2 separate regions of the Homo sapiens genome follow, and region 2 is linked to region 1. Evidence: promoter capture Hi-C in human tissues and cell types (Jung and others, 2019). All regions are on one chromosome and are shown on one strand. Each heading gives the region's core, a stretch centred on a gene start or on the middle of the fragment in contact. The rest is flanking DNA. Distances are from core to core; before and after follow the strand shown. Region 1 holds the start of ZNF737 (zinc finger protein 737). Region 2 overlaps ZNF66 (zinc finger protein 66).

Region 1 (6,245 bases), core at 2,019-4,518:
CGGTAGAGGTTGTAGTGAGCTGAGATTGCACCACTGCACTTCAGTTTGGTGACAGGGCTAGGAAAAAACCAACAACAACAACAAACAATATGGAACACAGTGGTATGTGTTGTGCACCAGGATTCAGATACCTTACCAGCATTGTTCTCGCCAAACCTCTTTATTCCCAATTAGCCATTTGTTTCATTGCCACTGGGGCATCCATGTGGTAAGACCATTTGCTACTGAGCAAGAGTTCGTATACAAGTGACAAATCCCTCTGGTCTCCTCCTGAATAGCTCAGAGGATGGCTGCCAGTTCAGCTAACTGAATGCTCCCACTCCTTCCTTCATCAGAAATGCTTATGTATTTAAGAGGATTATAAGCCACAGCCTTCCAGCATTGGGTCCCACCAATGTATTTGGTGGGTCCATCAGTAAACCAAGTATGTTTCTGATCCCATTTGATGGGCGGTTGGGGAGGGGGGTGTTTACCTCTCTATCTGCAGGACTCGTTCAGTGTTTCCTGAGCTGGCAAGTTTTGTCCATCCTCATGTGAAAGTGATACCCTCTTTGGTTTTGGCTTAGGCTGGTTTTGTATGTGCCATTTCCATTATATGATGCTACTTTCTTGGGTGTGCCCTATCTGGTGGGTTTTGGGGGAACTCATGTCTCAAGTCATAATAGGAATTTCAGGTCTCATAAAAACATCATGGTTGAAGCATAGGTGTTCTATTTCCAGCAAAGCTCAATAGCAAGCTAACAGTTGCTTCTTGAAAGAGGTATAAGCTTTTCCTCCCTCTGGTGGTTTCTGGGTCCAAATCCCGAAAAGTACCCTCTTCCCATCTTGTTTCTGCCCAAGGCTCCAATTAGCATATTGATCTAGGACAGTTACTTGCAGTTCTACTGGCCCATCCCGTATGGGCCATAGATCCAGGGCCAGTTGCACTGCTTGTTTAGCTTGTTCAAAGGCCATGCTCTCTTTCTCTCCCCAGTGAAAGTCATAGCGTTTTCTAGTGGCTGCATGCAGAGGTTGTAAAATGTTACCCAAGTGGGGAATATGATGTCTCCAGAAACCAAACAAGCCAGTACATTAGTGGTAGGGGTTGCAAAATCTAGTATTTTAGCCTTAGCCTTTGGTAAAATGGACTATTTATTTGCATTCCATAAAATGCCAAGGAATTTTATACTTTGTGCAGGTCCTTGAATTTTACTAGGGTTAATTTCCCATTTTTGAAATAGGAACTGGGTTTTTACCTGCTCGAAGCCCCGGCTGACTAGTTCTTCAGTTTTATCCTGACTGGGCCACCTGGACAGCTGCTTTTTTCAGCGATAGGCTGATAGCTTTGAGCTTTATCAGTCAAGACATTGACTGGCATTGGGCCAGTCTGGAAGTCAGATTAGCATTTTCCTTTTCCGCTTACATTTATCTTGTAGCAACCAGCCCCTATCACGATACATTAACTTATAAGCAGTAAGCAAACACCATCCACTCCGGGAGATCCCTCAGCATCTCCTTTGCTGACTGGAATCCCCCGCAGCACTTCCCGCACAGTCAAAGGTTTAAACTGCACTAATTTAGATTCCCAATTCCCACAAAAACCAGTTCCCCTTGACCATTTAATCACCAAGAGGGAGAACTGGGGGAGTTCCCATCCCAGGATATGGGAAGTCCCTGAGCCCTCCAGCCCTGTCCTTCTAGTCAAAAAGGGGTACACTTTTGTTTTCAAATCCTATTTGTGATGCCAAAAATGTTCTGTGAGGCAAATGTGAGAGGGGAGAAACAAAGACACACACACAATACCATTAAGGGTAAACAACTTTTATCCCACGTAAATGGCAATGCAGACATAATAAAGTAATAATATAATAAGCAAATGATATAATAAGCAAATAAATATAATAAGCAGATTGATGTAATAAGCCAATCTTAATAAGACGAGGAAATGGGAAAAGATATATATATATATATATATATATATATATATATATTTTCCCTCACCAGACTATGGGGGATTCACCACCAGAGAGGGAGGCAACAGCCACAGCTCTAGAGTCAGCCACCCGTCCATCGTACACAGACAAGGAGAGGTCTTATGAAGCTTCAGGGCGGTCTGGGACCTTAGCTCTTTTGTAACGAGTTGTTTGGCATAAGGCCCAGTGATGAGAGCCCTTCACGACTTGCCTCAAGGAACACAAAAAGGTCAACCTTTTTTTGTGATTGTCTATTGTTTTTCAACAACTAATATATAGGAATAGATTGAAATAGAGATTTCTTCAATACAGCGCTGGATGAACACCTCAGGGGCTCACACAACCTGTTCTGGGACTTGGTGACAATTGTTTGTGTCCACATTCAATTGAGTTCAGATTTAATATGTGACTTTTCCTCCACAAATTCCCCTGTCTTGATGAATCGGCTCTGTCTAGGCAAAGGGTAAAATAAACCCCTTGGGCTGTTACACAACCTCCGCCTCCTGGCTTCAAGTGATTCTCCTGCCTCAGCCTCCGGTGTAGCTGGGACTACAGATGTGCACCCCCACACCCAGGTAACTTTTTATATTATTAGTTATTATTATTATTTATTAGTTATTATTAGAGATGGGGTTTCACCATGTTGGCTAGGCTTGTCTTGAACTCCTGACCTCAAGTGATCTGCTCACCTTGGCCTCCCAAAGTGTTGGAATTACCAGCGTGAACTATCCGTGCCTGCCTCTAAATGATTTCTATCTCCTATAGCTGTTGGAAATTAAAGATTGTTTCAAATTGAAAAAATAAAAAGAATGTGGACAAAAATAAAATATAAATAGTTTTTTAAAATTACGAGATATTACAAAATATATATGTAAATCTGGAGTGCTCAAAAATGACAAATTTGATTTATTTATAAGGTTTTATTAAAATTAGCTTTAATAGATTTTACCATTACCAAAGTAAAAGTTGATTTTCTGTTGAACAAAAATTTTATGTATTATTAATGACAGCAAAATACTTCTGTTCACCTTTTTAATACATTCAACAAGAAAGAGAGTAAACAAGAGATAAAATATTCCCATGCTCTGGGGTGGGCCTGGCTCAGCTCAGGGAGGAAGCACTGTTTGAAAAGCCAGCTGCTTAGGCTGGCACTCTTTGTTCACTTAACCCAGCATCTGATCATATCTTCTGTCACTCAGGGCCTGAGGGGGCGGGGATTTAAGCATTATCCAATCAGGGACGCTGGGCTGGAAGCCGTCCAATCAGGCACGCAGCCAGAGTGAAGCGGAAGGCTTCCGGGTTTTGCGGGGCCTTTGTCTCTGCAGCCGGAGCTCCAGGTCTTGTCTTCACTGCTGTGTGTCCTCTGCTCCTAGAGGCCCAGCCTCTGTGGCCCTGTGTCCTGCAGGTATTGGGAGATCCACAGCTAAGACGCCCGGGAGCCCCTGGAAGCCTAGAAATGGTGAGAGTGCCGGTCCGACATCCCGAGAGAGGGGGATAGGCTGGTTGGAACCGGTGGGAAGTGGCTGTGGCGGGACTCAGGCCTCTGCGCAGTCAGCTCCACAATCTGCACCCTGAGTTCTCCTTGCCCAGCTCGGCCTCAGTCCCGTTCAGCCATAATTTGGCGGCTACGCTGACAGCCGGGCCCCCTGGCGTCCTGTGTCTTCCCTGCGTAGTGACTGCTCTGGCCTGGAGCGCTCCGTGGGCAGCTCTGCAACCGCAGCCTCCCGTCTCTCCCAGAATGTGCAGGGACCACCAGAGGGTCGTCAGGGGAGAATCCTGACTCGGGGTGCAGGTTCATGAATGGGAAGAGCTTTGGTCCGTGGAGTTCACAGTTTCTGTTTTCTGCTATTCAAAATTTATGGGGCCGGGCGCAGTCGTTCACGCCTGTAATCCCAGCACTTTGGGAGGCCGAGGCAGGCGGATAACTTGAGGTCAGGACTTCAAGATAAGCCTGGCCCAAATGGGGAAACCCCATGTCTACTAAAAATGCAAAAATTAGCTGGGTGTGATGACAGATGTCTGTAATCACAGCTTCTCGGGAGGCAGAAGTGAGAGAATCGCTTGAACTCCGGAGGTGGATGTTGCAGTGAGCTGAGATCTTGCCACTGCACTCCAGCCTGCGCGACAGTGAGACTCCGTCTCAAAAAAAAAAAAAAAATTCCTGGTTATGTAATTACAGTTTAATTGGCAGTTTATAGTTGCTTAAGCCTGAATTTTGTTTCCCCTAATGTAGTAATTTCCCAAAAAATGCACATGAGCTTAGATTTTTTTTTTTTTGAGGTAGAAATCCAGGGACTAGAGCTTCTTCAGTCTAATTGCCTGCCACTTAATTATTTTCACACGCCACAGCGGACTGATTTTCCCTGGCATTTTCCACATGTGTCTCAAGCAAGGCCTCAAGTGTACCCCATGTTCCTCAATTTATTATTTTTATTTTTTTTTTTTTGAGACGGAGTCTCGCTCTGTCGCCAGAGCTGGAGTGCAGTGTCAGATCTCGGCTCACTGCAACCTCCGCCTCTCAGGTTCAAGCATTCTTCTGCTTCAGCCTCTGGAGTAGTTGGGGCTATGGGCACGCGACACCACGCCCAGCTAATTTTTGTATTTTTAGTAGAGATGGAGTTTCAGTATGTTAGCCAGGAATGCTAGTTACCAAGGAAAAAAATAGGGAAAATCTCTCTTCCATTTTGGCTGTAGACAATGAATATATTTCCACAGGAAAATGTGGTAGATAATTGATGAGTTACATAGATTCGTCAACACATTAGTTCCTCTTTTTGCAGGGGAAATTTGTGACAGTGAATATCTCAGTTCTATATCCTGTTGAGTTCTGAGTTAAATGCTAAATTATATGTGATGAAACATGGTACCTTCTAGAAGTGTTCCCATATGACTAATTTTTTACTACATTATTTTATTTATTTACTTTTTTTTTGAAACAGAGTCTCGCTCTGTCAACAGGTTGGAGTGCAGTGGCGTGATCTCGGCTTACTGCAGCCTCCACCTCCTGGGTTCAAGCAATTCTCCTGCCTCAGCCTCCTGAGTAGCTGGGATTACAGGCACGTGCCACCACACCCAGCTAATTCTTTTGTATTTTAAGTAGAGAGGGGGTTTCAACATGTTGGCCAAAATGGTCGTGATCTTCTGACATCGTGATCTACCTGCCTCGGCCCTCCAAAGTGCTGGGATTACAAGCATGATTTGCCGCACCAGGCCTACTTATTTTTAAGATAAATAATAAAATAATACATATATTTTCTGAAAGAAGTAGATATATTTACTTTTCTTATGGAGGTATCACATGCAAGCACCTTAGCCAGGTGCAGTGGCTCACGCCTGTCATCTCAGCACTTTGGGAGGCCGAGGTGAGTGGATCACTTGAGGTCAGGAGTTTGAGACCAGCCTGCCCAACATGATGAAACCCCATCTCTACTAAAAATACAAAAATTAGCCGGGTGTGGTGGCATACGCCTGTATTCCCAACAACATGGGAGGCTGAGGCACAAGAAGGTCTTGAACCGGGGAGGCAGAGGTTGCAGTGAGCCAAGATCATGCCATTGAACTCCAGCCTGGGCCACAGGGTGACTCCGTCTCAAAAAAAAAAAAAAAAAAAGTAAGCACTTCCTTCTTATGTAAACACTGTGTTTGAGTAATTTCCCTGGATTTTTCTAACACTTAGTTTCAAAAACCAAGTGAATAACTCTGACATGGAAATCAAAGCTTGAACCTAGTGACTCCAAGCTAAGGCTGATATTAAGCCTGCAACAGGATGTTACTAAAGACTCAGTTTTTTTCTGGGGAGCCTCCCCTGCACATGTCCCAGCCTGCTCACCCCAGCCATAGAAGGAGGCTTTATCCTGAGAGAAGCTACAGAGCCCTGGAAAGCTGGGGCCCCACAGGCAGATGCAGCTGAGGTTAAGATGAAAGGAAACTTAGAGGGTCTTATTGATGATGAAGTTGTTATGTTTTGTGGCACTTTCTACACTTTGTAAAATAAAAAATATTAATTTATGTTAAAAAAATGAATTCCAAAAAAAATTGCAACAGCAGAAAATACCAACTAATTTAAGATCTTTATGGCTTGCAAAGATGTAAGCAGAAAAGGGCTTTCTTTTTTAGGGAGGAGCAAACAAGATTAGAAAGGAGGTGGGAGGTGAATGGCAAACGGAGAGTGAAAAAGTCATATTTTAGATCAGAGGATGTCTTACCCTGAAATCAGCATGTTCTTAGGAGGGACATAAAATGGGGTTGTATGCTGACTCAGACTGAGGGTAGCTCAAAGTTCAGGAGCCTGAG
Region 2 (6,245 bases), core at 2,064-4,563, 230 kb before region 1:
CCAGCACTTTGGGAGGCCGAGGCGGGCGGATCACGAGGTCAGGAGATCGAGACCATCCTGGCTAACACGGTGAAACCCCGTCTCTACTAAAAATACAAAAAATTAGCCGGGCGAGGTGGCGGGCGCCTGTAGTCCCAGCTACTCGGGAGGCTGAGGCAGGAGAATGGCGTGAACCCCAGGGGGCGGAGCCTGCAGTGAGCCGAGATTGCGCCACTGCACTCCAGCCTGGGCGACAGCGAGACTCCGTCTCAAAAAAAAAAAAAAAAAAAAAAAAAAAAAAAAAAAATCTAGCATGCAACATTGATGCATTATTAAAAAATTGTCAGGCCGGGTGTGGTGGCTCACAACTGTTATCTCAACACTTTGGAAGGCCAAGGCAAGCAGCTCACCTGAGGTCATAAGTTCAAGACCAGCCTGGCGAACTTGGTGAAGCCCTGTCTCTACTAAAAATACAAAAATTTGCCAGGGGTGGTGACACATGCCTGTAACCCCAGCTACTTGAGAGACTGAGGCATGAGAATTGCTTGAACCTGGAAGGTGGAAGTTGCAGTGAGCCACGATCACACCACTGCACCGCAGGCTGGGTGACAGAGTGTGACTCCATCTCAAAAAAAATAAAAATGTTTCTAGGTAACTGAAATATTTAACTGTTAGTGTGTACTCACTAAATGCAGGTATTTTGAATCATTGGCATGCCCTGTGTGGCAGTAAAATTTCAGAGAATATGCAGTATAATTATAAATAGAAGATTCTAATGAGAAACTTAAAAATTAGCATTTTAAGGAAACTAGTTACTTTTAATGTTTTAAATATATGGTATTTTTACACAAAATAAAACAGCTATAATCAAACTTTAGAAGCAAAGAGTAGCCTTACATTGTTAAATTTAAAATTATACAATTTGCAGAATAGGGTTAGACCCTCTGATATGTAAAACAAATATTGAGAAATAAACTATGTTATTATTTAGATATAGGCTAAAAAAAAGATGAAAATCCTTTAATTCCTTTTTGCCTGCAGCAAACTTAAATTCATAAGTAACTATTTTAGTAATATGGGTCCCTATGAGTTATCTAATTTACTTCAGGCATACCATGCAAATTCTAGCACATTGTCCTAAATATCTGAATCTAAATTTACAGACAAATCTGAAAGAGAAAATAGAAAGTAAAAATGTATAGGGAGAGTGACATCAGTAAGATGAAAAGATTAAAAGTCCCTATTTTCATACTCCCTTACAGCAAAAAAAAAAGTCAGCCATCTCTGACAAAAATGCCTTTATGAGAGAAATAGGCATTATGGCTCACACCTGTAATGACAGATACATGGTACATTAACGTTGGAGAACTGCTTCAGGCCAGGATTTTGAGACCAGCCTGGGTTATGTAGCAAGACCCCATCTCCAAAATACACGCCACTAAGAGAGATTTGAGATCCAGGGAGGGAGTTGTGAAATGCTGCTAAAGCTTAAGATTGAGAAGTGTTCTATTCAGAAGAGAACCTGCCCTTAGTCAGGTGGGAAACTGCAGGACCCCTACTCATGGCTACAGACCAGATAGGGTTCACCCAACTTGGTCCCACTGAGAATTCTGAACTTACTCTGTAACCAATCCAAACTCCTCCCAGTCAGAGTCTGGCAGAGGTCCTGACATTCAAGAGACCTGGAGGAAGGCACCCATTTACAACAATGTAGGCAGGCCTGCAGACTTTGGACTTTACTGGGATCCCTGAAGCGGTTCTATGACTCAGTTTCAGTTACCTGAGCCAAGTTTATGGTCAGTTCTGCCTACATAGAAACCCACACAATTGGGCAGGGTACAGTGCCTCACACCTGTAATTCCAGCAATTTGGGAGGCTGAGGCGGGCGGATCGCCTGAGGTCAGGAGTTCAAGACCAGCCTGACCAACATGGAGAAACACCTTCTCTACTAAAAATACAAAATTACCCAGGCATGGTGGCGCATGCCTGTATTTGCAGCTACTTGGGAGGCTGAGGCAGGAGAATCACTGGAACCCAAGAGGCGGAGGTTGTGGTGAGATGAGATCGCACCATTGCACTCCATCTTGGGCAACAGGAGCAAAACTCCATCTCAAAAAAAAAAAAGAAAAAGAAAAAAAGAAACCCACACAGTTCCCTAAGGAAATGCTTCTAAAATCAGTTTATGAAAACTTGAAGAGGTGTTTACTCCATCAAATTCAGACACCAATACAAAACTATATTGTGTCCATTGTCAATGCTTCTATTTGAATGTAGTGATGGAAGTATGTGGCAGAAGAATTATTCACAGAAATAAAAAAATCCAGCCAGGCATGGTGGCTCATGGCTGTAATCCCAACATTTTGGGAGGCAGAGGCGGGCAGATCATCTGAGGTCAGGAGTTTGAGACCAGCCTTGCCAACATGGTGAAACACCGTCTCTACCAAAAAAATACAAAAAAGTAGCTGGGTGTTGTGGTGAACACCTGTAATCCCAGCTACTCAGGAGGCTGAGGCAGGAGAGCCACTTGAGCCCAGGAGGCAAAGGTTGCAGTGAGTCAAAATCACACCATTGCACTTTAGCCTGGGCAAAAAGAGTGAAAGCCCCTCTCAAAAAAAAAAAAAAAAAAGTTGCTGGTTGTAAATCACACAATTTTATATTTAAAAAACCATAAACAGTACATTAAAACCTGTCTAAACTAATAAATACACTCAGTAAATTAGCAAAATATAAAATTAAACACACAAGTATATGTATGGTTTCTTACACTTAAAACAAACTATCTGATGAGGAAGAAAAAATCTTATTTAATATAGCATTAAATAAATTCCTGAGAAAAAAATTAACCAAGGAGGTAAAAAAAAGTTTACAATAACAAAATAAAAAAATTAGAAGATAAAAATTAATTTTAAAATATTTTATGTCAATGAATTAAAAGAATAAATATTATTAAAGAATCATATTATCCAAAGTGATTTACAGACTCAATAATCTTCCTATTAAAATTGCAGTGTTTTTTTTTACAATAATGGAAAATACAATTCTAAAATTTACATGAAACTAAAATAAACTTTGAATAGCCAAAGCAATCTTGAGGAAAAAGAAGAAAACAGAATATCGTACTTACAATTTCAAACTATATTTCAAGACTATATAGTAATAAAAATAGAATGGACTGTGCACAAAAATGAACAAAAAAAAATGCAACAGAAACTACTACTCTCACAAATTTCAGACCGGATACAAAAAGAAAACTAAAAAATAGTTTCAGTTTCTCAAAATTAGGAAGATATTTGTGTGTCCCCAAAACAATGAAAAAGCAGCTGGATTGTGCTGTCTCTTATATGTCATGAAGAGGACTTTGGCTCTCACTGTGAATGTGAAGGAAGCTCACTGAGAGAAAAGTAGAATTTTTAGAGAATTTAGAAGCATAAGACAATATGCCCCTTTGTGACAGCAAAATTTAAAACAACAAAAACAAAAACAAAAAACAAAAAAAACAGCTGCCCAGAAGTTCCTTTGGAACACAGCTTCCAGAATCACACCTTAAGGACTGGCTTTCTTTTTGACCTTGGACTTCTTACTGTGTTGTCTGTTGTATTCATTTTCACTCACACCTACCTGAGGGGTTGGCTACCATCTCATGTCTCTGCATAGTCGAAGGTTTTTTTCCTTGCTCCAGATGGGTGATGAGGTCTGGCTTTGAGACAACAATACCTGTTTTATCAAAAATAAATAACATGAATCTTGCTCACATTCTCCAATTACAAGCTAGTAATGTGCTCAGGAAAGATGATGTGATAAAATATTCTAGTAAATTAATAACAAAATACAAATTTGTAACAGAGATTTCTAAATATTTAGAAAATACTTCCAATTTGCCTGGTGCAGTGGCTCATGCCTGTAATCTCAGCACCTTGGGAGGCCGAGGCAGGCAGATCCTAAGGTCAGGAGTTTGAGACCAGCCTGGCCAGCATGGTGAAACCCCATCTCTACTGAAAATACAAAAATTAGCGGAGCATAGTGATGTGTGCCTGTAGTCCCACATACTCGGGAGGCTGAGGCAGGAGAAACTTGGGAGGTGGATGTTGCAGTAAGCCCAGATTGCACCACTGCACTCCAGCCTGGGGAACAGAGTGAGACTCTGTCTCAAAAAAAAAAAAAAAAGAAAAGAAAAGAAAAGAAAAGAAAAGAAAAGAAAATACTTTCAATTTGTAGGTTTCCTAATTTTACTACCTGGTACTACTGAATCAAAACTTGGTGGTGGCAAGTAGATTTTCAGGTGGAAGCTACAATATTTTAAGTCAGTAAATTTCTGGAATTACCACTAATTTAGAGTGAAGAATATAACTCACCTCAGAAATGTGGAAAGTTTGTATTAAGATGAAATATCTTGAAGAAATTTTTTTCTTTCTTTTTTTTTTTTCTTCCTTGAGACAGAATCTTGCTCTGTTGCCCAGGCTGCAGTGCAATGTCATGATCTCAACTCACTGCAACCTTCACCTCCTGAGTTCAAGTGATTCTCCTGCCTCACCCTCCTGAGTCCTGGGATTATAGGTGCATGCCACAGCCCGCAGCTAATTTTTTGTACTTTTATTAGAGTTGGGGTTTCAGCATTTTGGCCAGCTGGTCTCAAACTCCTGGCCTCAGGTAATCCCCCTGCCTCAGCCTCCCAAAGTGCTGGGATTACAGGCATGAGGCACCAAAGTAATTCTTTTCTAAATGAACAAATTCTGAAGATTTTCTTGAAAAACTGGATCTGAAACTCTTTTATAAAAAGAATAAATTACTAACATTCTACAAAAAAGAGAAATAAAACAATTTGTGTATATTATGAGTTATGTATTAAAGTTTTTCTCACCAAGAAAGACCAGGTTTCTGTAGTTCTCTAACATCACATCCCTATATAAATTCCGCTGTGCCATGTCCAGGCAATGCCACTCCTCCAGAGAGAATTCTATGGCCACATCTCTAAATTGCAATGGCCCCTGAAAAATATACACACACACATTTTCACCAAGTGGTTATGGGCGGAATTTTTAATTTGACTTAAGGTGAAATGAGAGAGTAAAGATAACTGGTTCTGACTTATAGGACTGACTAAAGTTATCCTATAAAATAATTTTCAACACAGAAATATTCTCTAAAGTATTCTCTAACTCTGAGAAAATAAAGGAACATAAGATCCACAACATCAGTTCATATATTTTTCTAGAAAATAAACTATAAAATTAAGGGCATGAACACAAACATGTACATTTTTGAGTGCTATATTTACATCATATGGAATGAGTTGTGAATATTTTTCAGATGAAAAAGGCATGTTTTAATATGTACAATAAGCTGAAGACCTTGTTATGCAGGGTTTTTTTCCAGAAGATCTGGAATAAAGTCTGATTTTTTGAATTTCTAGCAAGCTAACCAATAATGTCAATGTTTTTGGCCCAAGAAGAATATTTTGTCAAACATCCAGTAAGTGGAAGAGCCTGTGTTTTTTCCAGTTTTTCTGGCCTGTAAACAAAGATAAGAGCCTTAATTTTCCAAAGAAAAATATGTAGAAAAAAAGAAAAAAGAACAGCTGCCAGATTAAATGATTGTTTGTTCACATCAGCTGCATAATGAAACTTAATAATGAAGAGAAAAATAATTAGCTATATAGTAAAAAAAAGTCTGTCAGAGACCTATTTAAGCAAGTGAATCATTAACCATTAACTGCACTAGGACAAATTTTTATGATGTGTTAATGCATACAGAAGAATACAGCATCACTATTGAAATATTCCTTTTTAAAAAAAGCAAATAAAATCTGAATGTAATCAAAAAGAATCATCAGTTTTATGCAAACCTCAAAATACAGATACCTCCTATGTTCTGTAATTTTTAGTAGTAATATTAAGCAGGCTTCATTAACACCCTAGAAAGCAGGTATCTCCTAATAATTTTTTTCAGAATTTCTGGGTAATAAATGCCATCACATTTAAATGAGCAATTTTCTTTTTTTTTTTTTTTTTTTTGAGATTAAGTCTCACTCTTGTCCCCCAGGCTGGAGTGCAATGGCACGATCTCAGCTCACTGCAACCTCCGCCTCCTGGGTTCAAGTGGTTCTCCTCCCTCAGCCTCCCAAGTAGCTGGGATTACAGGTGCCTGCCATCACGCCAGGCTAATTGTTATATTTTTAGTAGGGACGGGGTTCCACCATGTTGGCCAGGTTGGTCTCGAATTCCTGACTTCAGGCGATCTGCCTGCCTTGACCTCCCAAAGTGCTGGGA

What was found. The method cuts DNA at HindIII sites, captures the fragments that hold promoters and counts their contacts. A contact is called where the count stands out against the background at its distance.
Region 2: a fragment that was not itself captured here is called in contact with the fragment with the promoter of ZNF737 in region 1 in 1 of the 25 tissues and cell types used here (thymus).

The regions. Positions count from the first base shown.
Region 1 is chr19:20,562,804-20,569,048 of GRCh38, reverse strand. It overlaps ZNF737 (zinc finger protein 737), which reads left to right and starts at 3,268. Exons shown (of 4, transcript NM_001159293.2): 1 at 3,268-3,411. The coding sequence starts at 3,409. The region is part of intron 2 of LOC105372316 (a long non-coding RNA gene); the gene reads right to left. RefSeq lists enhancers at 3,416-3,465, 3,676-3,835. The HindIII fragment of the contact is 4,540 bases long and covers 1,425-5,964 here.
Region 2 is chr19:20,791,231-20,797,475 of GRCh38, reverse strand. ZNF66 (zinc finger protein 66) reads right to left here. Exons shown (of 4, transcript NM_001355197.2): 2 at 4,838-4,964; 3 at 3,598-3,693. Among named protein-coding and RNA genes, the nearest start is that of ZNF66, 18 kb to the right of the region's middle. The HindIII fragment of the contact is 8,007 bases long and covers 1-6,245 here.